Regions from separate parts of the Homo sapiens genome. Here all the other regions are linked to region 1. The links are contacts of gene promoters, found by promoter capture Hi-C in blood cells and fetal thymus (Javierre and others, 2016). All regions are on one chromosome and are shown on one strand. Each heading gives the region's core, a stretch centred on a gene start or on the middle of the fragment in contact. The rest is flanking DNA. Distances are from core to core; before and after follow the strand shown. Region 1 holds the start of FJX1 (four-jointed box kinase 1). Region 2 holds the start of LOC101928510 (a long non-coding RNA gene). Region 3 overlaps LDLRAD3 (low density lipoprotein receptor class A domain containing 3). Region 4 overlaps LDLRAD3 (low density lipoprotein receptor class A domain containing 3).

The links. The method cuts DNA at HindIII sites, captures the fragments that hold promoters and counts their contacts. A CHiCAGO score of 5 or more calls a contact.
Region 2: a contact is called between a fragment that was not itself captured here and the fragment with the promoter of FJX1 in region 1, in 1 of 17 cell types (endothelial precursors). The highest score is 6.0, in endothelial precursors.
Region 3: a fragment that was not itself captured here is called in contact with the fragment with the promoter of FJX1 in region 1 in 2 of 17 cell types (M0 macrophages and M2 macrophages); the score reaches 5.3 in M0 macrophages.
Region 4: a contact is called between a fragment that was not itself captured here and the fragment with the promoter of FJX1 in region 1, in 2 of 17 cell types (M2 macrophages and endothelial precursors). The highest score is 5.8, in M2 macrophages.

The regions. Positions count from the first base shown.
Region 1 is chr11:35,613,549-35,619,709 of GRCh38, forward strand. It overlaps FJX1 (four-jointed box kinase 1), which reads left to right and starts at 4,912. Exons shown (of 1, transcript NM_014344.4): 1 at 4,912-6,161. The coding sequence starts at 5,089. RefSeq lists silencers at 4,500-4,589, 4,620-4,949, 4,771-4,932, 5,030-5,099, 5,120-5,379 and 1 more and enhancers at 5,232-5,866, 5,867-6,161. The HindIII fragment of the contact is 8,334 bases long and covers 1,317-6,161 here.
Region 2 is chr11:36,074,421-36,080,581 of GRCh38, forward strand. The region is part of intron 2 of LDLRAD3 (low density lipoprotein receptor class A domain containing 3); the gene reads left to right. LOC101928510 (a long non-coding RNA gene) reads right to left here and starts at 3,481. Exons shown (of 2, transcript NR_135064.1): 1 at 3,325-3,481. The HindIII fragment of the contact is 4,017 bases long and covers 847-4,863 here.
Region 3 is chr11:36,014,354-36,020,514 of GRCh38, forward strand. The region is part of intron 1 of LDLRAD3 (low density lipoprotein receptor class A domain containing 3); the gene reads left to right. Among named protein-coding and RNA genes, the nearest start is that of MIR3973, 7.3 kb to the left of the region's middle. RefSeq lists an enhancer at 3,416-4,615. The HindIII fragment of the contact is 942 bases long and covers 2,948-3,889 here.
Region 4 is chr11:35,966,848-35,973,008 of GRCh38, forward strand. All of the region lies in intron 1 of LDLRAD3 (low density lipoprotein receptor class A domain containing 3), which reads left to right. It also overlaps the pseudogene WEE2P1. Among named protein-coding and RNA genes, the nearest start is that of LDLRAD3, 26 kb to the left of the region's middle. RefSeq lists an enhancer at 5,301-5,490. The HindIII fragment of the contact is 763 bases long and covers 1,817-2,579 here.

The DNA.
Region 1 (6,161 bases), core at 3,662-6,161:
TCAAGGTGCCAGAAGACTGGGTGTCTAGTGGGGCTACTCTTCCTTGCTCATAGGCAGCGGTATTCTTTCTGGGTCCTCACATGATGAAAACAGAGCTGGAGAGCTTACTGGGGTCTCTTTTATAAGGACACTAATCTCATTTATGAGGGCTCTACCCTCATGATTTGATCACCTCCCAAAGGCCCTACCTCCTAATGCCACCATATTGGGAGTTATGATCTCAACATATTAATTTATGGTGCAAGGAGGAACACAAACATTCAGTCCGTAACAGAGATACATACATAATAAAATTATAGCCCAGGGGGTTAGAAAACTCCCCAGGGTCAAAGAGTAGTGGCCAATGTAGGAGTCATACCACTTCCATGGAATATTATACTCATCTCTGACATCTTTTGTCCCCTCTCTTCCTTTTTGTAGAAGCACGTGGAAGGGTACATTTGGACGCCTCTGTCTTTTCCAGGGGCTTATAACTCAGGAGATCCAGAAAAGGTCAGGATTGAAGGAGGCAGACTAGTGAGAGGAAGCCAGAAGCTGTCTGCCCGAGGCTGGCTGGAGGCTCTGGGCATTTAACAAGAGTTACACTGGGAACCTTGGTAGAAGCCAGGTGGTCCAGCTCCATGGGGAAGAAATATTGCAAAATTATCAGGAAAGACACCATTTCAGGCATAAAGCAGGTGCATTGAGCTGGAACACCACTTGTATTAGGTCTCTCAAGACCAAGTGAGACTTGGTGGAGGACAGCAACAAGAGAAGGAAGACATCCCCATCTGAGCACTGAAACAGTGAAATAGAAAGGAAATAGAAAGGAAAAAGAACAACAACAGCTATACTATAGTGAACACTTAGATGCTCTTTTAAGCACTTTAAATATAAGCACTAATTTAATCATCACAATAATCTATAAGATTTGTTCCTATTACTAGTAATCATGAGATATTGTATATTGTTATAATTTTTGTTAGTAATACTAGTAATACTGTTCTTATTGCATTTTACAGATATATACACTGAGGCACAAAGGGGTTAAGTAACTTACCCGAAGTCACATGCCTGGTAAGTGGCAGGACTGGGTTTTAATGAGACAATCTGGCTTGACAGTTCACACTCTTAACCATTTCACTTGGGAACAAACCCCAGAGAACACATGAAACCAAAATTTCATCTCAGTTGAATCTATTTTGATTTAATGTAATAATTTCTGCACCTGACATTTCCCTAGCAGTTTATAATTTACAAAAGGTTTGGTCCCCATCATTTTGGAATCGCAGCCCTGCCACTTCCTTGCTGCATGACCTCATTCCACTGATTGGCTAAGCTTCCACTTCCCCATCTGTAAAGTGGGTATAATAATACTTTTGGGGGGGTTTCATGAGATAAAGCACATGCAGGGTTTAGCTCCACACCGAGCCCATAATAAGAGTTCAATAAGTGTTTGCTGCCACTGATGCTGTGGTTATTATTAATATTTCACTTGAGCTGCATGACAACCCTGTGAGTTAGGAAGGATTTATTAACTTATTTCTCAGGTTCTGAAACTGAAACTCACAGAAAGTAAATAACTAGAACAAGGAACAAGCCAGAAAGTGCTAATGCCAGACTTGGAAAATATTCCAATTCCAAGCCTCCTCCCCTGCTTCCAACCCTCAACTCCACCTCCTCTCTTTCCCCCAGGAGGCACCATTACATGAACCAGATCATTCTTCAAACAGGACTGTGGAAAAGTTTGAAGATATTGGAAGTTCAGGCTCAGGGATAAATTCTAAGGAGTATTAAGAAAGTCATAAAAGTGCAAATGGATTTCTCATCCCCAAGCAACTGCCAGAGGGCAGAAGTGACTGAGGTGATTAACTATGCTACCCCACAGAGCCAAAGTGGTTTGGCCACAGGTGGCAGGGGAGTGTCCTCAGTCCAGAAAATAAAGGAGAATGGGAGTATTTTCATCTAACAGCTAAACAGAGGCATGTTTTTAAACCCTGTCTCAAATAATCAAATACCATTCCAAAACTGCATTCCACTTTGAGGAAGGGGCAGTGTTTGTTCCTTTGGTTTTCTGTATTTCTGCATTTCAATTAATTTGTTAAAGTTTAACAAATTAATGCATCCTGTTCTGGTACATGATGCATTCAGTCCTATGGCTATAGGCAAAGGGCTGCTCAATGATAAAATTAGTCCATCTTATGAGGTGTACGATCTTAGTCAATTTATTTAAGTCTGGGTTTTTTTCATCAGTACCAGCAATATGGTTAGGAGATTCCAGGATTTCTAGTCTCTGGATTTGAAGCCAGCCCTCCCAGAATTAAAATCATGTGCTTCCCCTCACATCTATCATGCAAAACCCTCACCAATATTTTTTCTTTTTCAAATGAGTGGAAGTTCTTATTTTGTATTCTTTAATCAGCTGAACAATAACTCACAACCGTTGGACAAAATTGTTTTGCATTATTTAGTAGTAAGGTATTTAATTTAAAAAAACTTGATACATGCTACTTGCATCTCATTAGCATTCTAACGATGTATTCAGCAAATTGTTGTTGAACACACACTAAGTGCCAGGCATTGTGCCCAGGCAGCCATAAAACAATGGACAAGACAGACTCCCCAGGAAGTTTACAATGGTAGTTACTTACAGCTTTTGTTAGCAGCCAAAAAGACAGAGACCCCAACTACTTTGGATTTCTCCATATCCCCTAGGACATAGCTTGGTACACAGTAGACATTTAATAGTCTTCCGAATTTAACTTCAACAATTAATCATCCAGTTAAAAATGTCTACTTTTCTCCAATTAGATGATACTCTACTTATGCCCACTAGGTGGCGATCTTGCTTATAGTTTGCCCACGCTGAAAGAGGCTGCCTTTCAAATAAATACATATATATCCCAGTAGAAGTTAAACCAAAAGACAAAAAAATTAAATTTATTGAGTGCTTATTTAGTGTAATATACTATGTTAGGTGGTATAAGAAATAAAAAAATAAGACATAGTCCCTGCCTGCTAGGGAAAGATGAGGAGGGGCTTACATAGGCCAAAAAAATAAGACCTTTGAATGGATTAATATATTTCGATGCAACCATATGGGAGCCATAGTAATCTCATTATCAGATAAGAGTTATAAAATGGCATGGTATAGCCACCATGTGGTTGGGAACAGATTCAACAGTTCATCCAGTATGTACTTAACCACACCAGTGAAAACACTTGACTGTATCCTGGGTCAGTGCTGCAATACTCCAAATGTGGTTTTTTGATGCCTCTGCTCAGCCATAAACATAAGAGTGTCTGCTTTATCACCCTGGAACGCTCTATCACCCTAGAACGTTTTTTCTTTGGAGAATAAAACATAATCAGTGCCAACTGATGAGGTAGTCCAGTTGAAAACCCCCATGTGCACCTGATGGGAAGATGAAAGGAGAGAAAAGATACACACCATGTAAGGAAACAGATTTCAAACTCTGGCCTTTGAGAGGTGGATTCCACCATGCCCCTGATCTTGTGTCTACCCTGGGAATCTCAGTGTGGATCTGGGACTCATTCTGATACAGAGAGGTAAGGGAGGGCCGACTGGCATCCAAGTTTTCCTGGTAAATGTAACCCAGAGGTGGCTGGAAGATGTGTTGGGGTGAAGAGGTTGTTCATTTTGTTTTCTTTGCTCCTTCACCACCTCCCTCCCCCACCACCACCACCATTTCTTTTTCCCTTAAATCGTAAAAGCAGTAAATCAAATGCAGTATGGGATTGAGGTTTTTTTCCTTTCCATTTGAAAAATCCTTTTAATTGAAAAATCACATTTGGGGAACAAAGTGGTCAAATGACAGTGAATTTCAAACTTGAGAATGCTGACTTGATTAAAAAAAAAATACTGATCTTTCTTAATGGAGGGAAAATCAAGTGCATGCGGCCAGGAGACCTGAGTTTGACTTTTAGCTTCGCCCCTTGCTAATTGTGCAATCCTGAGCAACACCCATCCCTTCTCTGTGCCTCAGTTTCCTCATGGACAAAACGGTATCATTTCTTTCGAAAAGTCGTCCCTGACTCCCCTCTCCCCAACACGAGGTTGGATGGCTATAATCTCTCTTAGCAACCTGAGAGTCCCACTGGAATGTAAATTTCAGCAGCACTGGGACCCGGATCTGTGGATTTTGCTTCTGGTAAGCAGAACCAGAACTGAGGGGCAGTCGCTGTGTTGAATGGATGCATGAATGAATGGGAGATGGCCTAGGTGTTCAAGGGGCACGTGCACAGCGAGGCTTCATTCCCTGGGAGTCCGTTGGGAAAGGCAGAGCGGCCAATACTGATTGGTGCTGATGTGCGAGCTCGGAAAAGGGAGTGTCGGTTCAAAGTTGTTGGCTACAGCGGGTTCCTCTTTCCGCTGGAATCACATCCTCTGTGGCTCGGAGACATTCCCAGAGATTTACATAAAGCAGCGTGAATCACCCAGACAGAAACTGAGAAAGCAAAGGGACCCTGCCTGATCCTAGCCTGGCGGAGCTCGGAAAGAGGTGGAAATCTGTCTGAAGTTTGCAGGAGACCCGCGCTGCCTAGGCAAAGGGACCCGGCGACCAAGACACCCCCGCGAGGGCCCAGGGCGCGTCCCTCCCGCCAGGCCCCAGACTCCGGCTCTGCGCCACCCCCTCCTACGCCCCGGCGCGGGCGCAGCCAGTCCGGCTTCCTCCAGGCCCCCAAGTCCCGGACCGAGTGTGGGGCCGCCTCTCCCTCTCGGAAGGAGCCATCGCCGCTTTAAGTGGAAGAGGAGAGGAAGGGGGCGGGGGAGCGGGGGGCGGGGAGCGGAGGCGGAGGAGGGGGAGGGGGATCCCCCTGGCTCCCACGTGGTCCGGGCGCCTGTGAATCGCGCCCACCGGAGGGTCTCACAGCGAAATACAAAAGCAGCTGGGAAGCGGCGGGGACTCGAGTTCCCAGCGCCGGGCGGAGCGCCGGACAGAGCCCCGCAGCGCCCCGCGGCCGCGATGGGGCCGAAGCGCCCGAAGCCCCGGAGCCCACAAACTGCCGGGCCCGCCTCGCCGCCGGGACCCGGGTGCCTGGGCTCGGCTTGAAGCGGCGGCGGCGCACCGGCACAGCCGCGGGAGCATGGGCAGGAGGATGCGGGGCGCCGCCGCCACCGCGGGGCTCTGGCTGCTGGCGCTGGGCTCGCTGCTGGCGCTGTGGGGAGGGCTCCTGCCGCCGCGGACCGAGCTGCCCGCCTCCCGGCCGCCCGAAGACCGACTCCCACGGCGCCCGGCCCGGAGCGGCGGCCCCGCGCCCGCGCCTCGCTTCCCTCTGCCCCCGCCCCTGGCGTGGGACGCCCGCGGCGGCTCCCTGAAAACTTTCCGGGCGCTGCTCACCCTGGCGGCCGGCGCGGACGGCCCGCCCCGGCAGTCCCGGAGCGAGCCCAGGTGGCACGTGTCAGCCAGGCAGCCCCGGCCGGAGGAGAGCGCCGCGGTGCACGGGGGCGTCTTCTGGAGCCGCGGCCTGGAGGAGCAGGTGCCCCCGGGCTTTTCGGAGGCCCAGGCGGCGGCGTGGCTGGAGGCGGCTCGCGGCGCCCGGATGGTGGCCCTGGAGCGCGGGGGTTGCGGGCGCAGCTCCAACCGACTGGCCCGTTTTGCCGACGGCACCCGCGCCTGCGTGCGCTACGGCATCAACCCGGAGCAGATTCAGGGCGAGGCCCTGTCTTACTATCTGGCGCGCCTGCTGGGCCTCCAGCGCCACGTGCCGCCGCTGGCACTGGCTCGGGTGGAGGCTCGGGGCGCGCAGTGGGCGCAGGTGCAGGAGGAGCTGCGCGCTGCGCACTGGACCGAGGGCAGCGTGGTGAGCCTGACACGCTGGCTGCCCAACCTCACGGACGTGGTGGTGCCCGCGCCCTGGCGCTCGGAGGACGGCCGTCTGCGCCCCCTCCGGGATGCCGGGGGTGAGCTGGCCAACCTCAGCCAGGCGGAGCTGGTGGACCTAGTACAATGGACCGACTTAATCCTTTTCGACTACCTGACGGCCAACTTCGACCGGCTCGTAAGCAACCTCTTCAGCCTGCAGTGGGACCCGCGCGTCATGCAGCGTGCCACCAGCAACCTGCACCGCGGTCCGGGCGGGGCGCTGGTCTTTCTGGACAATGAGGCGGGCTTGGTGCACGGCTACCGGGTAGCAGGCATGTGGGACAAGTATAACGA
Region 2 (6,161 bases), core at 1,605-4,104, 460 kb after region 1:
CCCTGGGAAAAAGACATTCCAGGCAGTGGGAACAGAGAGTGCAAAGGCCCTGAGGTGGGAATATGCTGGCTGGGCTTGAGAAGGAACAAGGAAGCCTGTGTAGTTAAGATTTCCAAGATGGGAAGATCTTCATGGCCTTCATGAGAAAGCCTGGAATTGGAGAGCAGCATGATGACTCTAGGTTTTATTCTAACGTAATGGGAAGGCAGTGACGTTCTTACTAGAGGAGTGATGTGCTGAGGCTTGAGGAAACACTCTCAGCGTAGATGGCAAAGCCTATAAGCATTCTTCCCTCATCCCTCAAAAGGTGATCAGAACCAGACTGGCTGATCAAGGACCGTGTGTCAGAAGCTTGAACCTGTCTGGAAGGACACGATGGCTGGAGAGCTGGCAGAGGGGCAAACCTGACCCTGGAAAATGGAACTCCTCTGCTTTTCTGTTACTGTAGACTTTCCCAGCAGAAGCTAAAATGCCCATCTGTGCAGAAAAAGCATTAACGCAGCAGGCCTGACTGCTGCCCTTTGAAAAGTCTGCTTGGAACATTGGCCCTTGGCTGGCAGCTGGGAACCTAAATTTCAGTAGGTTTCCCATTACCCAACTGTTAATGGTGGCTCACTGTGCCTAAACTGGCTGTGCAGACAGTGTAGTTGATGCTGTTTTTCTGCTGGAAGTCTGGAAATTTGGTGTACCGAGAATGCCTGTGTGACCAGCCTCTCATAAAAACCGTGAGCACTGAGCCTCTAATGAGCTGCCCTGGTGGATGACATTTCACACATGTTGTCAACAACTTGTTGCTGGAGGAATTAAGCACATCCTGTGTGTCTACCCTGGAAGAATCCTTGTGAAAGCTTGAGCCTGGTTTCCTGTGACTTCATTTCATATGCCTTTCACTGTAAGAAATCTTAGCTTTGATTATATGCCAAGTCCTGGGAGTTAGCCTAGTGAATCATTGAATCTGTGTGGGCTTGGGGACCCCTGACACAGCATCTTATATGAAGGGACTGTAGTGTTGGTGTATCTCATTACTGATGATGTTGACCATGGTCCCTTGGCTGAGGTGGTATCTACCAAGTTTCTCCACTGTCAAGTTACTATTTTTCTCTTTGTAATTAATAACATATTGCGGAAGATACTTTGACACTGTGCATATCCTATTTCTCCTCAAGTGTTTATTTTCTAATTTTAGCATCCATTGCCAGATCTTGCCTGTAACAGTTATTACAATAGTGTCTGCTTCGTGGTGACTTTCTGTTTCCTGCACCTCTTCTACATTTATTAATGAGAAGTCTTCAATAAGGAAGAACTTTCCTTTCTCCCCTTTTTACTTACTTATTCAACAATTTTTGGTATCAGTCTCAGGTACTAGATCCTTATTTTGTTGGCCTCAGATATTTATTTTATTCTCTGTGTCATAATCTGATACCGTTGTTGATTTTGTTGCTTGGATGGTTCTAGCTTTGGCTATTGGGAACTTCAGGTTAACTTCTGTGTCCTTTTGACATGCCCCCATGATATTTGGACACTTATTTACTTTATTTTGACACTTCTGGCAACAGAAGATACTCTGGGTTCATCTTGTTTGTATATTCTTCCTGGAATCAACTATTTCTCCAAGGAGGTTGGTTCTCTTTGCTGGATAATGGTATTTAGAAACCAAGATCTGGGTGCTAGGTGTGCTTATTGCTGTTGAGATGTACTGCTTCTAGTCTTCTCTCAGCAGACAGAGCTAGGAAATGTATGTATGTGCATTATCCCTTACATACACACAAGTCAATATTTATTTTTGTCTGTCTGTCCATCCGTCCATCCATCCATCCATCCATCCATCCATCCATCCATCCATCCTGTCTGTCTAATTTTTAAAGACCTTGAGTTCATACTGGTGACCTCCAATTCCTTCAAATTTCCATTGGAAATTTTGGTTCAGTTTCAATGAACCAAAGCCTCAGGATTCACTTTAGCCTTCTCACTGTCTTTTTTTTTTTGAGATGAGTCTCTCTCTGTCGCCCAGGCTGGAGTGCAGTGGCACAATCTCAGCTCACTGCAACCTCCACCTCCCGGGTTCAAGCAGTTCTCTGCCTCAGCCTCCTGAGTGGCTGGGACTACAGGTGCCCGCCACCACGCCCGGCTAATTTTTTTGTATATGTAGTAGAGACGAGGTTTCACCATCTTGGCCAGGCTGGTCTTGAACTCCTGACCTTGTGATCCACCCACCTCGGCCTCCCAAAGTGCTGGGATTACAGGCGTCAGCCAATACGCCTGGCCTAGCCTTCCCACTTTCTTTATTTGCAACTTCTTTCTCTGACAGAAATCTTACAATATATTTACATATTTGTTCACCCCTAGTGCACCCAGAAGACAGTTTCAGAATTGATGACCCATACCCTTGGGAGAAACAAATATAACTAGTGTACAGTATTGTAGATTTTTTTTTTCTTTAGCTTTATGGAATCTAGTCAACATACTGTTTTCCTGAGTTACTTAGGCTGGTTCTTTTCTTCCCCATCCCCTTCAGTGTGGTGGTGTTATTTACTAGTAATACAGTTATGTTTACTTGTTATTGTTTATATTTCATTTTGAGTTTTCCCCACATGTGATTGATTTTAAGTGTTTATTTTTGGGGTATATAAAATACTACCGTAGTTCTAAGATATACACTGCTCTGAGTATATTTACACAAGTATATGTTAAGTCAGATAGATATACTCGGAGAAATGTGTAACCTTCTCATCCTGTTATCTTGTCTGATATCAGTTCCCCATGTTTTTTCACTCCTTTCCCACTCACACCCTGTAGATAACCAATCTCTTTAGTTTCTGGTTTATCCTCCTGTATTTCTTTTGCACAGATAAGCCAATACATGTATGTTTTCTTATACCCCTTCTCTTCTTATATGGAGGGCAGCAAAGTACTGTTACGGGATCTTTGGGGTATCACTTTGCCAACTGGAAATTTCTGTGGCCAGTGACACCTTTGCCCAAGTTTTGCTCTGGCCTGCTGGGCTTCTCTGCCTACTTGACCTGGCAGGCTGCGTTCGGCTCCCACTACCAGCCTAGATCCCATACCTGCCAAGGGCAAGCCAGTTGCAGAACAGTGAGGGTTGTGTGAGCGAGCGTGGAGTTCAGCCACTGCACAGCCAGGTATGCCAGCTGTGGTGGGGCAGGCAGCTCCAGGCACCAGCATGGGTGCCAGCTCCCTGCAAGGCTGCAGGTGGACCAGGCATACCTTAAGCAGCTTCCATGGCTGACACTGGGGAATGCAGTGTGGTGCCCAGAACCTTGGAGACTTCAGCAACCACAGAGCCCTAAAGAGTGTATCACAAACCTGGCTTGGGGTTGCTCCTAGGTCTGGGCTCCCCAAAGGGCCACAGCTCTTCTCTTCCTTCTTCTCTCCTCTTGTCTGCTGCGACATGGTGGGCAAACAGCATGTTTCAGCCCTGTTTGTGTTATAGCTCTTTTAGCCTTGCCATTCAGTGAGTCCCTAGTTCTTGTCCTGCATCCGGGAAGAATGAGGTACGCAGACAAGTGGAGGGTGAGCAAGACAAAGGGGAACTTTATTGAGTAATAGAACAGCTCAGAGGAGACTCACAGTGGGCAGCTCCTCTCCGTAGCCAGGGTATCTTGATGAGTGTTCAGCTCTCAGCAGAGAGGGTAGCTCCTCTCTGCAGCTTGTCCTGTTGTCTCCTCAAGTCTGGCTGAGTCCGGAGTTTTTATGAGCCTCAGAGGGGAGGAAGTGCATGCTGATTAATCCATGGGCAGGCCTGGAAAAGTTCCCACTCCAGTCTGCGGGACCCACAGCCTGGCCCTCAGGCCTCAGGCCTTCCCTGGCTTGAAGATTGGGCTTCACCTGGGACCTACCCCTTCTGCCTAGGAGCATGTCTGCCTCCTGCTGCCTTTCATGGTGCCCAGGTTTGTACCAACGGGCACCTGCAGGGCAGTGCCAAGCTGTCTTCAGCACCCCCTTGGTCTCCCTCCCATGTTTGTCTTCACCCAAAGTCCGGAGGCGGCTGAAGTGGCAGGGGACTTGTGTGTCAGTGCTGCCCTGAGCGTGCACACATCCGGCTGGGTTGCAATAGTTCCCAGGCTCATCCTCAACTTTGCTCCATGATCTGAGTGGGTGCTGACAGCAGGGAGAGGCCAGGGAGCTGGAGCAGACACCTCTGAGCCTGTGGGAGTAAGGGGGGCCCAGGGAGTGCAGAGATGTCTGCATCTGCAGCTGCAATTTGGGTGGCTGCAGCCATGCCCAGAAGGGTGGGACTCCTGCCTGCTCCATGCTTCTGCTGACACTGTAGAGTGTGGCACTGCCCTGGGCCCAGCTCTGCCTCAGTGCCCCTCTCTGCCTGCCTCTCCATGACCGACCACACTGCTTCCCTACCAGCGGACGATTCAGCTTGGCCCTGTCACAGTGGCTCCCAGGGTGGCGGGCAAGGTGCAGGTGGTACGGCAGCCCCAGTCAACCCCACACAAATGAACCTGACGCTTCCAGGGCCAGTCCCATAAGTCCCAGCTGTGCCATCAGCTGGGTGCTCGCAGGCCCCTGGGATACAGCGGAGAGCGAGGTTAAGACTGTGGCAGAGGCTTCAGGTCTGGGAGCGGATCCTACCAGGCCGTGTGAGGGTGGGGTTTTTGGCTCCCTCAGGGACGCAGGGCACAGGGGACCTACTGCCGCCACTGCTGCTCCTGCAGCCACTCCTGCTGCCACAGCTCACGCTTCCTTACTGCAGCTGGTGTGATGGCAGCGGCCACTCTGAACAGCCCACTGCTGCCATCAGTACTATAGATACTCTTTTCTACTTTACTTTTTTGACTTATCAGTATGTCCTAGAAATCACTTCATACCAGTTTATAGAGACCTTTCATAATAAGCTTTCTAAACTTTGGTCATCAGAAAAAAATTTCTGTCAGCCCAAGGATCAGTTTTTAAATTCTATGAACTTAGTGATGATGAGGAGGATGAGGATGAGGATGAGGATGATGATAAATAGCATAAGCATTACCATTAATTGAGCATCTACTGTATTCTATGCTCTATACTGTTTTGTATAGATTATCTCACTTAATCTTTGCTAGAGCCCAAGGTAGTAGATATCACCTCCAATTTACTGATAAGTGCTGTGGATACAACTGGTTGGGGCTGATGTTGTGGGTGGTGAAAGAATACCGAGACAGTCATAGGTAAAGAAAGGCAGATTTGTTAGCGAAAGTACAAAAATATGTTGCATGGGTGCAAGAGGCAGCACAGCAGCGAAGGGGCTATCTGCAAAGCCACAGGGGCTGGAGAAAAGTTTTATAGGGTCGTGCTAGACTAGGGGCCTACTTGTGGAACGAGGTATTTAATGAAAGGATGTTGGGCCAGTGGGTTTGTGATTAGCCATTTCTTGGAACAATTGTTCTCCCCGACTTGGGCCCTCTTACTTGTTGTTGCTTACTTATCAGGATGCCACAGTAAGGAAACTGAAGTCCACCAAAATTTAGAAACTTGTCCAAAGTCATAAAAAATAGAGTTGGAATTTGAACCCAGGACTGTCCAGAGTTTATGCTTTGAGAAGAGTTCACCAGTACCATGACAGAAGTTCCAAGGTGAAACAAAGCCACATGGGTTTTTGAAACCTGGAACATTTCAGGCCTTAAAACCCTGATGATTGTGAGTTGGCTGTTGCCAAAGTCAGCATGTTACAGACAGCAAGAACATGGAGGTAATTTATTGCCTGTTTGTTTCAAAGAAATGGCCCTTCCTTCTTGGAGGACCATGGGTCCTGCCTCTAAGACAGAAGACAAGAGGGATGCTACATAGGGCCTGCTACCTGGGATGTAGCAATAGGTCTCATCTTACATCTCCTAATCGCAAGCCGGAGCACCAGAACCATTAACGGGAGAGTACATTACCCCACAGGGCTGTTTGTTATTTAGCAGGACACTCAATTAAGCCCAAGTTACAGCAGTTTCTGCTAAAACTGTTTGTGCAGCATGAGTGGAAGAAGAATTTATTTGGAGCAGGAGTCTGCCTTCTGTTGTGAAAAGTGACAGCCTCTGGCAGAGAGAGAGGCAATGCTGTTGAGTTGGTTGAAATCAGGGCTTCTGGAATCTGCATGCCGGGCCTCACCCGGTGCTTGATTTTCCAGCTGTGTGACCTTGGGCAAGTCACTTCATCTCTCAAAGCGC
Region 3 (6,161 bases), core at 2,169-4,668, 400 kb after region 1:
TATTACCAGCCTAGGCTTTAATGAAAATGCTGTGTAACACCATTATGGGAAATGATAACTTCTGTTGTGCCCAAGGAATGGAAGCGGCTGGAAGGGTGCAGTATGGGATGTGCATGGTACCTGCAGTGATGGTAACGCCTGGAGTGCTCTTAAAGTCACAACTCCCCTTGGCTGGGTGGCCCATCACACCTGCTCCCTCCTTTCCCGCCTGCCATGGGGAGGTGGCAGAAACTTTGCTGGCGAGGTGAAATCAGCCTTCCTCTCCCAGGGTTCAGACTCCTTCCTGAACATCTATCTGGGCAGTGGTGATGACAGGGCAGTGCCTTTTTGAAAGAATTATTACGGCAGAAAAGAGGAAGAAAGCCAGGTTCAGACATCTCCCTTGGCTGCAGGCAGAAATCAGCATTCAGTTGTCTAATCTGTAGACTCATCAAACATAAATTATTCTGGATGGCTTTTCTCTCTGTATAGCTTGCTATAAACTTTATGATTTATTTTTATTTTATTTTTTGCCAAAGACAAATAAAAAATGTTTAAACAAAAGAAGGGGGGAGCCCCCAGACGAACCATGTGGAAAAGTTCAGTGAAGAACCCCCTAGGATTCCTGATAACCAAGAATAATCCCAGAAGAGTTTGGAAAGTGAGTTGGATTGTAACTGGAGCTGGAATTGGCTTCCAGGGCAGTCCCCTACTCCCTGTTCAGATTCATTTTGGAACTGAAGCGACAGCAGCCATGTAGACTTTTCTGCATGCATCCCAGAGTCTGGCTGTTAAGCCGAGCTTCAGTAGATGCCACCGCAGAGCCTTGCGCCAGGTCTGAGAAGTTTGCATGCTTGGGGTTTATCAGGGTGTGGCTCGTGCCATTTTGGGCATTGCAGAAAAGGAGTGGGGCTGTTTTGAGTATTCAGAGAAAATGAGTGAATCAATTAAAAATAAATCCGGGACATGCCATTCCCCCCCCCCGCCCCCTGCCCCCATTGCCTGTCCCCGTCCCCACCCCTTGTCATTGCATTGTGAACTCTTGGACTTGATAGTGAGGTTGCTGGTTGCTCAGGCTGTAGAAGGAAGAAAGGAGAGGAATGGTGTCTATAAGCCAGCTGTGCTGTTCAAAAACATGTTTTTTACTTTTTATTTAAGTAAACTTTTTATAGAAACTTAACGCACATACCGAAGAGCGCGCAGATGTTAACTGGGGAGCTCTATGAATTTCCATGAAGTAAACACACCTGGGGAACCAGGGCTTAGCTCAAGAAGTACAGCATTGCCAACCCCAGAGCCCCGGTGGTGCCCCCACTCCATCCTCCCCCTGCCCCCCGCCACTGTTCTGACTTCCAACATCACAGATTCCTTTCTTCTGTTTTTGAACTGGCAAGAATGTCTGGCTCCTTTTACTCCACGTTAAAAAGATCTAGTTTCCACCTCATCTTCCAGGAGGTGGGTTGTAGGATAACCCTCCACCCACTTGGGTTGCAAGGACAACTCCAAAACCTTGGCGACCCGACCTCCCACAAGCCTTGGGCTCCAGACTCCAGCACTCTTGTTCCAGGCGCCCTTGAATGAGCTCGTCTGTTTTCCAGCAGAAATCGTGGCCTGATGCCACCTGGAAGACCCAGTAGCATGGAAATAGGAGTCCAGAGCAGGCTGTAAGTGTGAGCTCACAGGGAGGGCAAGTGAGATTTGGAGAGACCTGCCACATTCCCCGCAGAGGACGAATGACGTTTACATCCCTTAATCAGAGTCAGAGGCATCCCACCCAGGCAACTGAGGTGTGGGCCTCTTGTGGGGAGTGGGGCTGGCCAGAAGGGAGGGGAGAAGTGTGGCTGTGGAAGGTGGCTCATAAGAGCTTTTATAGAATACACTTGTGTTCTAAAAGGGAATAAAAGGAAACATAGCCCTTGGGTCATTTTCTATGCTAACTCATTAATAAGCAGTCACCCACAGGTTTCTCCAAGTGATTCCTTGTTCAGTTTTTCTTTTTAGTTTGAGCCAACATTTGGGACTATTAGTTTCTGACTGTATCAAGTACTCTTATCCCAAACTTACTTCTCTTGTGCTTTAAGGAATGCTTCATGAAAATATTTTGTAATTTGGTGAGTAAGATGACTGTTTCCTTTTGGGTTTTGTTTCTTAATGTTAAAGGAACAAATCTTTCTCTGTGTGTATGTATTTTTACAATGAGCAGCGCTATGCCACCTCTCCCCTAAATCATCTTGGCCGCTTTCGTAAGTTCTCCAGGCATATTTACTATGGTGACACTTTAAGCAATTGGTTCTGAAGAAAAGATGCCAATAGAAAATATACCCACATTCTAAAAGGACCTCTCAGTTCCTTCCCTGCAGAGTGTGTGTTCTAAGATTGTGCAGATATAAATGTAAATACCAGTACACTATACATCTACATCTCTAGCGATGAACAAACATGGGATTCTGCTATACATATTGTTTTCCAACTTGCTCTTTCCCTTCTGACTCTATTGTGGCTATTCTTCCGTGTCAGTACGTTCTAACTCCTGAATTCTTTTTAAAGGCTGATGTGGTACTATGGCTATATTGCATCATAGGAGGGGACCTCAGAAAGTTTGTGGAAAGACATAATTAAAAGATAAAAATATAAACTTTACTCCTCAACATAAGCTTCATCAAGTTCAAGGCACTTTGGTAAGCGATGATACCAACCATTTAGTCCATCCCTAAAGAACTGAGGGTTCTGGGAATTTAACCATGTCAATGTGTTTTTTACATTATTAACTGAAGAAAAACATTTGCCTTTGAAAGATTTTTAGGATTAGGGAACAAAATCAGAAGCCAAGACTGTAAGGAGGCTGCCTCATGGCTTCCCATTGAAATTCTCAAAAAATTGCCCTGTTGGATGAGTTGAATTGAGCAGGAGCATTACTAGGATAGAGGAAGACTCTCTGGTGAAGCTTTCTGGGGCATTTTTCTGCCAAAGCTTTGGCTAACTTTCTCAAAACCTCTCATAATAAGCAGACATTATTGTTCTTTGGCCTTCCAGAAAGCTAACAAGCAAAATAGCTCTCAAGTATCCCAAAAAACTGTTGCCATGACCTTTACTCTTGACTGGTCAACTTTCGCTGTGACTGGACTACTTTCACCTCTTGGTAGCCATTGCTTTGATTGTGCTTTTTCTTCATGATTGTACTGATTAAGCCATATTTTATCATCTTTTTTTTTTTTTTTTTGAGTCTCGCTCTGTTCTCCAGGCTGGAGTGCATTGGCGTGATCTTGGCTCACTGCAACCTCCACCTCCCAGATTCAAGCAATTCGAGTGCCTCAGCCTCCCGAGTAGCTGGGATTACAGTCGTGCACCCCCATGCCCCATGACTGTATTTTTAGTAGAGACGGGGTTTCACCATGTTGGCCAGGCTGGTCTCCAACTCCCGACCTCAAGTGATCCACCCGCTTGGCCTCCCACAGTGCTGGAATTATAGGCATGAGCCACTACATCTGGCCCATGTTTCATTTAATACAGTTCTTCAAAGATATGCTTCAGGATCTTGGTCCCGCTTGTTTAAAATTTCCATTGAAAGCTCTGTTCTACTGTGTAGCTGTTCTGGGTGCACCAGTTTTGGCATTCATCAGGTAGAAACTTCAGTTTTTCAGTCAGAATTGTGTAAGCTGAACCAGTTGAGATGTCTGTGGGTTATTATTTCTGTTGTTTATCATGGATCCTGTTTAATTAGGGCACAAACGAGATTAATTTTTTCCTCAAAAGTTGATGTGGATGGTCTGCGGCTGCAGGCTTCATCTTCAACACTGTCTTGCCCCGTCTTAAAATGAGTTAGGTGTTTGTAAACTGCTGATTTTGGCAGGGGGCATTGTTCCCATAAACTTTTTGTAAAGCATCAGTGATTTCATCATCCCTTCACCCAAGCTTCATCATAAATTTGATGTTTGTTCTTGCTTCAGTTTTAGCAGAATTCATGTTGCTCCAATAGGGGCTTTTTTCAAACTGATGTCTTATCCTTCTTAGTTCCTCAAGCTCGATCCTGTTCAGACATGTTATAACAAGTTAGTATGAGTTTATTTGGGTACAGAAAAATTTTAAAATCCATGCATAATTTTTTCATAATATGCATTTTCACAAACTTTGAAGATCCCTTTCATTTACCTATCTCCTCTTATAGACACTTGAGTTCTTTAAAGTTTTGGACTTTTACAAGTGATGCTATAAATAAAAAAAACCCAGCCTTTTATGTGTTTCTCCCTGCATTTATATATTTCTAAGGCTAGATTCCTAGAAATACAATCAGTGGGTCCAAAGGTAAGCTCATTATAAATTGTGCCAGGTGCTGTCAAATGGCCCTAGAGAGATGGTACCAATTTATACTCCCACCAGTAGGGTCTGAGGGTGCCAGTTTCCTCACCCTGCCAACCCTCAAGAGTACTCATCTTTTCAACTTTTGCCAGTCGCATTGTTCTAAACAATGGCATTTCACGTGCATTTGTTTACCTGCTAGTGAGGCTGTGCATCTTTTCATTTATTAGCCATGTTTATTTTTTGTGCCATGCTTGTTCGTTTTCTTTATTCATTTTTTTCTTGGTTTGTTTGCAGTTCTCTTAAGGAGTTCCAATTAGGGACATAGAGGATTGTTTTAAAACACACATTTAGAAAAAAAAATCTCGATGGGCATTTCTGGCTATAAAACTCTATAAAAGACCAAGTACTTCTTCTTTCTGGCATTGAAGGCTTTGGTTTTCTGCTTTGTTTTTATTTAATTAGGTGAAATTTTTCCTCCTGGCTGGAGAGTCCGGCTGTCTGTAAATGCATTATCATTTGTGCAGCACGGGGTAGATTGTGATCTGAGCTGGAAAGTGAGCCATGCCAGGCAGGGGTTGGAGCCTGTTGGAGCTGATTATCGCGGGTGTTCAGTGCAAAGCTGAATCTCTTGCCCCGTGTCTCTTAAAAACCATGGTCTCTCATGTTGTTAGCATAAAGGCACTTGATTGACAAAAGGAGAGACAGGGAGAGTCTCTGGAGATGTGCTGGCACTCTGGTTCATTATGTTTCTTTATTCTGCTGGCATTTCCTATGTCAGTCTTGCTTCGTGTGGAGCCATTATTCCTCTCTTCACATCCAGGTCATGTGGAGAGCTGCCACCTTCCATATAGGTAGATAACCTGGCCTCATTGTTCATAGGACACCAGAGCTTCCAGGAATGGGGTGGCCAAGGGCCTGGGTCCCAGCACTTCAGTGGCCGTTGATAACAGAGGCAAGCTTTCGACTGAACCCCTTTAGGCTCCTTCATTCCTGCCAGCTCACCCTTACCTCTCCAGTAGTAAAGGGCTTGTGCCTTTGCCTGCTCTGGGTGAGAGTCCCAGAGCACAGTAGCCCATCACACTGTGTTGCAGCTGTCACTATTCCCTGGATACAGAAAGAAACAAAGGCCAAAGTTAGGGTGCTAATGGTTTGGGATTCACCATGGGGAGAAGGTGAATCAACCTCTCTGTGGATGGAGGACTGGAGGCGTGACTGAGAGGCGGTCTGCCACCCAGTGCAGAGCAGAAACAGAGGGCTGACTCAGAGAGGCGTTGTCACCTGCTGGATGCACTTGGGCCTGGCTCTCTTCCCCTTTAACATGTGTCTGACCTTGATTCCCTGTGAGCTGGCTCTGTGGGCATGGGTCATCACAGAATGCTGGGTTTGTCTATGGGCAGCTGTGTCAGATGATGCTGACAGCACATGTTATCACATGCAAAGTCCTTGTGCCCCGGAGTTCTGGAGGCAAGCTTTTACCTGCCAAAGTTGCAGTATGAAGGACTGGACTACATTTGAATTTTTACTTTGAGCCATGAAGAATTACTGGTTTACACTCAAGCTAATCTGGAGGTAAAGGTTGCCTCACAGAAAATCCTAGGGTCCATAGCCTTCTCAGGAAAGAAAATAATAATATGAATAAAAAATAATATGAATAAAAACATGAATTTTTGGTTCCTATGCCCGCTCCTACCTTTTAAAATAAGCAAGTTATTATCTGAGCGTGAAGAGACATGTTTTAGTTCTGTAATCTTAAAATGCATGCAAATAGGGACTGTCCACAAGATGGAGGAATAATCCTAATTTGAAGGAATAATCCACAAAATGTTTATAGTATTTTAGCACAGGGAAGCAACTGTCCATTTTTCCCTCCTTCTTTTTCTCTC
Region 4 (6,161 bases), core at 948-3,447, 350 kb after region 1:
GAAGTACTGTGGAAATCCAGGCACATTTTCTTGTAAACTGTTACTTGAATTCAAAACCAAATTCTATTCCTTTCTATGTACAGCGAATCCCTGGGATCCTTGGTAGGGCAACCTCCTAATCCATAAGGCCAAGCAAGGGCTGTTTCCTGTTTTCTTCCTTTAGTTCAGAGGCTCATGCTGTCCTGAGGTAAAGCTTGAAGACCTTGCACTCTTTCCTCCTACCAGGCATTTGGTGTTTTCTGATCCCGTGTGGTCCCAAAGACCCGAGGGTCACCATGATGGAAGTCTCCCTGCAGGGACTGGGCCTGCTGGGCTTCCCTTAGTTCCCTTTCCAGTGCAGCTGTCTTGGACTTTTCCAAATTCAGCTGCTGCTAGAGCTCTTCTGCTTTCCCCAGGGAGGGCCAGGGCCAATTTCTGACCAGAGCTGCTGCAGAAGGTCTCTCTCCTGGATCAGGGTGGATCATGTGCTTGAGCAGACTGTAAAAGTCTTCTGAGAGCTCCTGAGGAATGTCTGGGAAGTTACTCTCATGGTTATGGTGCCTTGCAGCACTGTTGATGGGTAATGTCCTTACTCCTTCAGCCATTGCAGTGATTAATCCCAAGGCAAATAGGTCTGCTTTGGGAAGGTACTAATAATCCTCTTGCAAAATCTCATTTGCTAGGCAGCAACTATCTGCTTTTTCCACTTTGAGTTTGCTTATTGATGTCACATGGCCTAGGTCACCAATTTTATATATCACATGGGCAGAGAGAAACTAATCAGCTTCATTTTCAACTTCTGTGACTCCAGAGGAGTCACTTTGCATCTTGTGACAAAGGAAGGTTTTACAAGGTTTCATGTCCGGGTGCACCATGCCAGAGTTGTGGCTGTATTTAAGTTCAAGGGAAATCTGTAGAAGGATGTCCTTGAGTTTTGGCTCTTGGAAGTGATTAGTAGACTTAGTGTTTTCAGATATAGCAGCCTGCAAGCTCCTGCCATTGCAGTATCCATTCTGAATGATCATATGGTTATCTTCTGCCTGTAAGGGGTAGTAATGTACCAGGTGGGGTGATGTCCAAACACTGTATGAGCATAAACTTCACGCAAAGCCAAATTCTCAGGTGAAATCCTGAAAAAGTTTTCATATAGTGCTTTATTGCATAAACACTTCTATCCAGGCTTTTAATGCACTTGTAGACTGTACCAAATTCACCAACCCCAATTTTTTCTACCTCCGAGCATTCTTTTTTATAGTAGGAAGCCATGTTGGTTTCTCATAGAACACATGTCTCAGCAGGCAGCCCTTGTTCTTCCTTGCCTTCCTCTGGACCAGCTTCCTCAAGATCATCTCGAATTTTCCTCTTGACACTGGATTGAAGGAATAATTTTCTATAGGACTTTGGGGTGAAGGGATTAGTATTGACCAGAGCCAGTGAGGTCATCTCATCCTTGGGAGGAGTGGATGTGAGCATCAAATGCTTAGAGCCTCTGGAAGGAGGCTTTGCTGTTGGAGAAATAACGTCTGGCTCAGCGGGCTTTTGGGAGTAGAGGGGCTGGCACCATGTGGCTGCTTGTTCCTGTTGCCTGGTTGGCCTGGTGTCTCAGGATATTTGAGAAGGTGTGACACTGGAGTCCTCAAAATCTGATCTGGATCTTCTTTTTCTTTTTCCCGAGGTGTGTTGAGTTCATGCACGTTACTGAGAGGAGTCCTGGGCAATGTAAGCATTGCCTCTGAATTCTGCACTTCACTCTTCTCTGGGATCTGGCTCTGGGCCTCCCTGCTTCCCTGTGCTTTCTTTTGCCCTACATTCTGAGTCTCTTCTTCCAAACAGGAAAAGCTTAATTTCTCAGTTTTAATGTTTTAATTTAATTTATGTTTAATGCCTCAGTTTTTTGTTAATATTTCTGTCATCCATCTCAGCCAAAGAGCTTTACAACATAGGCAAGATCTATTGCAAGAGAACACCGTGATTCTGCAGAAAGAGGAGAAAATTATTTAACCTGGCAGGTTTCACAACTCTAGCCTGCCTTTCCCTCTACCAGCTAACATCTAGCTGTTTCAGATGGTTAAATTCCTCACGTGTGGCCTCATCATTTGGTAACTGGCAGATGGGACTCTGTCGTCTACAGATCTGTTTACGAACAGCCCTTTCCTAAGTGCATATGGTGTGCGTACCAAGTCCCCGGCTCAGAGTCACGATTTTATACACAGGTTCCAGCCGTGGAATCCACATGCCTCAGACTGGGGGGCACTTCCCCCTCAGGACACCGAAGCTCAGAGAGAGGAAAGAAATCCCTAATATTCCAGATGCAGCCAGGATTTCAACCCAGGCCTCTGTCTTCTCGGTCGAGGTCCTTCTCACTTCATGTCCATGGAGGCTTCTCTGCTCACGCTGGTGTGAACCCCAAGGGGCTTCCCCTGAAAACTCATAATAGAATCTTTGAACAGCTGCCCAAGAACAGATTTCAGATTTTCAGCCATTTTCCTCTTTTAATGGAAGCTCTGACTGGCTAGTTGGTTAATGGGTCCCAGGTTCTCCCAAGCCACTTAACTTCCTAATTTTCAAGCATTATCCATGGAGAAAATCCACTCTGCAGAAGCTTATGACTTAATGAGCTCAGTCAAAGTCAATCTGAAGTTGCAGGCAGCAGCTTTGATCATTGTGATAGGCGTTTTGGTTTCCACCGAGCAGAGAATGGGAAAAAGCTTTGCCCATGATTTATTAATCACTTCCTTGGCTGAGCTTTCTTGCCTGGCTCTCCTGGGAAGCACCAGTGTTGAGGTTGCTCAGGGTTCAGCCTCAGCATGGGCTTTAGGTGTCCATAGGCCCCGTGTTGCCTTGTTTCTGGAAGGCTTTGCTGAGCTGGAATGCAGCCAGATGTTGGAACCAGAGGTGCACACCTTGAGTAAACTCCTCTCTGCTTTCAAGCAGCCCTTGAGGCCCCTTATTGGCAGAACCAGCTCCTCCAGGGAGGAGGCATGTGGGGCCCACGTGCATGCGTGGAGTTTTTTTCAGAGACCCACTGATAAAATATTTACTTCAGTGACATGGTACCAAGTCCTGCTTTGTTTATTTTAAAAGTCTTAATACAGCATTAGCCATGAGGATACCGGCTTATTTGCTTTTGGTTTCTTGCTTGTGGTTTTTGTTTTTATGAGGAGCAAAGAAGCTAGGCCTGATCTTCTGGGAAAGTAGCCTGCTGTATGTTAGCCACACACTGGAAGAGGAAAACTGTTCTGTGTGGAGTGCTTACTGTGTGCTCCGGGTACTGTCCTTAGTGCTTTTAGGTCATTATTTAATCCTCTCACAATCATTCAAGTAGGTGTCACAGGTTAAATTGTGTCCCCTGAAAAGGTACACTGAAGCCCTAAAACCTGGTACTTGTGAATGCAAACCAATTTGCAAATGGGGTCTTGACATATGTAATTCGTTAAGACACAGTTCTGTTGGACTGGAGTGGGCCCTAATTCCCATGACTGGTGTCTTTGTAATAAGAGGGGGTACACAGACACTCACAGAGGGAAGATGGCCTTGTGAAGACAGAGGCAGACACTGGAGCATGTAGGTGCAGGGCAAGGAATGCCAAGGATTGCCAGCAACCTCCAGAAGCCAGGCAAGGAAGGATTCTGCCCTGGAGTTTTCAGAGGAAGCATGGCCCTGCCGACACCTTGAACTTCTAGCCTCTAGAATTGTGAAAGAACATATTTTTGTTGTTTTAAGCCACTCAGTTCGTGGCAATTAATTACAGCAGCCCTTGGAATTAGTATAGTTAGAACTACTTAGAAGAATATTAACCCCATTTTATAGATGAGTACATCAAGGCTGAGAGGTGTTAAGCATCTTGCCCCAGGTCACTCAGTTCATAAGTGGAGACAGACAAATCAGGTCTTGCATAATGCCGCTGCCAAGTCCATGCATTCATTTTCATGATGGAGCCAGCAAGGTGGTAACTTTCTAATGCTGGGTATCTAGGACATCTTAATGAGCAGTTTAGTCTCAAAGGGAGATTGCCCAGTTGCAGTTTAGATCTGCTTCTAATCCTGGATTTGGCCAGAAGATTCCTTGATTGACTCTGGGGGAACCTTTACCTTTATAGAGAGGATACAGGCCTGGTATTTTCTGTCCAGGGGATCTAAGCATGGGGTGGAGTATGCCATCTCTCCCTGGTGCTCAGCCAGGCCTGTGGGTCATCAAGGACCCAGCCCATTCTGCAGAGAGTTTAGACAGCTTGCCCAAAGTCTATCTGTAGTTGGAAGAAGCATGACTGGAAGGGAGATAATGAAAGGGTGCCATTTCTTCCTGATCTCTCTAATTCTGCCTGTACCCTTACCCCCATCTGAACTCCCACCCCTGCCTACACTACCCTTCCATCTGGGAGAGAGAATAGTAGGCAGGGGTCATGTTTTGGAAAGGATATTATTTCAAGGGCGTTGGGACCCCAGTGAAAGATTTTATTGAGGGGAGTGACATGACCTGTTGGACACTGTGGTGGGCTGATTTGCATCCCCAAAACTCATATGTTGAGCCCTAACCCTCAGTACCTCAGAAGGTGACTGTATTTGGAGATAGGGCCTTTAAAGAGATAATTAAGTTACCTGTTAGGCTGTTAGGATAGGCTGTAGCCCAGTTTGACCTATGTCCTTGTAAGAGGAGGAGTTTTAGATACACAGAGAAACACCAGGCATGCACATACACAGAGGAAGGACCATGTGCAGACACAGTGAGAAGGTGGTCATCTGCAAGCCAAGGAGAATTCTTGAGAAGCCAAACCTGCTGACTCCTTGAACTTGGACTTCCAGCCTCCAGAACTATGTCTGTCATTCAAGCCCCTCGGTCAGTGGCATTTTGTGATGGCAGTCCCAGGGTACGAATATAGAACCAAAAAGATGAATTGAGCCTCAGGGCGGAGAATGGATAGGGGAGCAATATTGTGGGTATTCAGAACAGCCGGGAACTCACAGGAAAGAGGAAGGTGGTGTGGACCAGGGAGATCTACAGAGGTGGGAGGAAGAGGACAGATTACAGAACTGTGTAGGAGCCTTAAAACTGATTATTGGGATGGGGAAGGAGTGGGGAAAGAATCCAGGAAGATCCCAGTATTCTATCTGAATGGATGGTGGCTCCATTCACTGGTTTATGGGAACACTGAAGGAGCTGCCGGTGTGGGGGAGGAGTCCCAGTTGTCAGTAAGATGTTCTCTGGCAACTGGTTTTTGTATCTGGAGCTCAGACAAGAGATCTGGGCAGGGATGGGGATTTGGAAAGTACTGGCATCTAGATGACCACTCAGCTGTGGGTACCAATGAGGAGGAGGAGACGAAAACTTGTTAAGCACAAAACTCTGTGAAACCCCAGAGTTTCACAGAAACCAGATCTTAAGGGAAGGCACCACCGTAGGAGAATAAGAAGGGGAATCACCAGACCACTGTGCTGAGAAACTGAGGGAAAGACTGTTTCAGGATGACAGTTCAAGACACGGGCCAGGATTTAGGAGTTATCAGCATGGAGATGTTAGGGCGATTCATCAGTGAGAATCTTAAAGGGGGAAGAGCAGAGGACCAGAGAAACCACAACAGCTTAAACTTTTTTTTTTTTAATCGTTTGTTTTCAAATTGGTAATAGATATAATGGTATAAAATTGGAAAGAGAATTTCTCATCCCTGCTGCTTCACTGCACAGTTTACTGGTTACCCATTCTCCAGCCCAGAGGAAACCAGCCCTCAGATTCTTGTGTGCTACTTCAGAGGTAGCTGTTTACGTGCAAGAATGTATGTAGGTAGGTATGTCTGAGCAGATAGATAGTCTGAATTTAATTTCTTTGCAGAAACTGTAGCATACCATGCATCCTATTCTACAAATTATATGTATTTATTGATTTGAATTTTATTGTTTGAAAAAGAAATGCAATCGTATGGTTCAACATTTAAAAGGTATAAAAGAGGTCAGGCGCGGTGGCTCACGCCTGTAATCCTACCACTTTGGGAGACCCAGGTGGATGGACTTCCTGAGCTCAGGAGTTTGGGACCAGCCTGGGGAACACAGTGAAACCCCGTCTCTACTGAAAATACAAAAAAATTAGCCAGGCATGGTGGTGTGTGCCTTTAATCCCAGCTACTTGGGAGGCTGAGACAGGAGAATCACTTGAACCCGGGAGGCAGAGGTTGCAGTGAGCCTAGATTG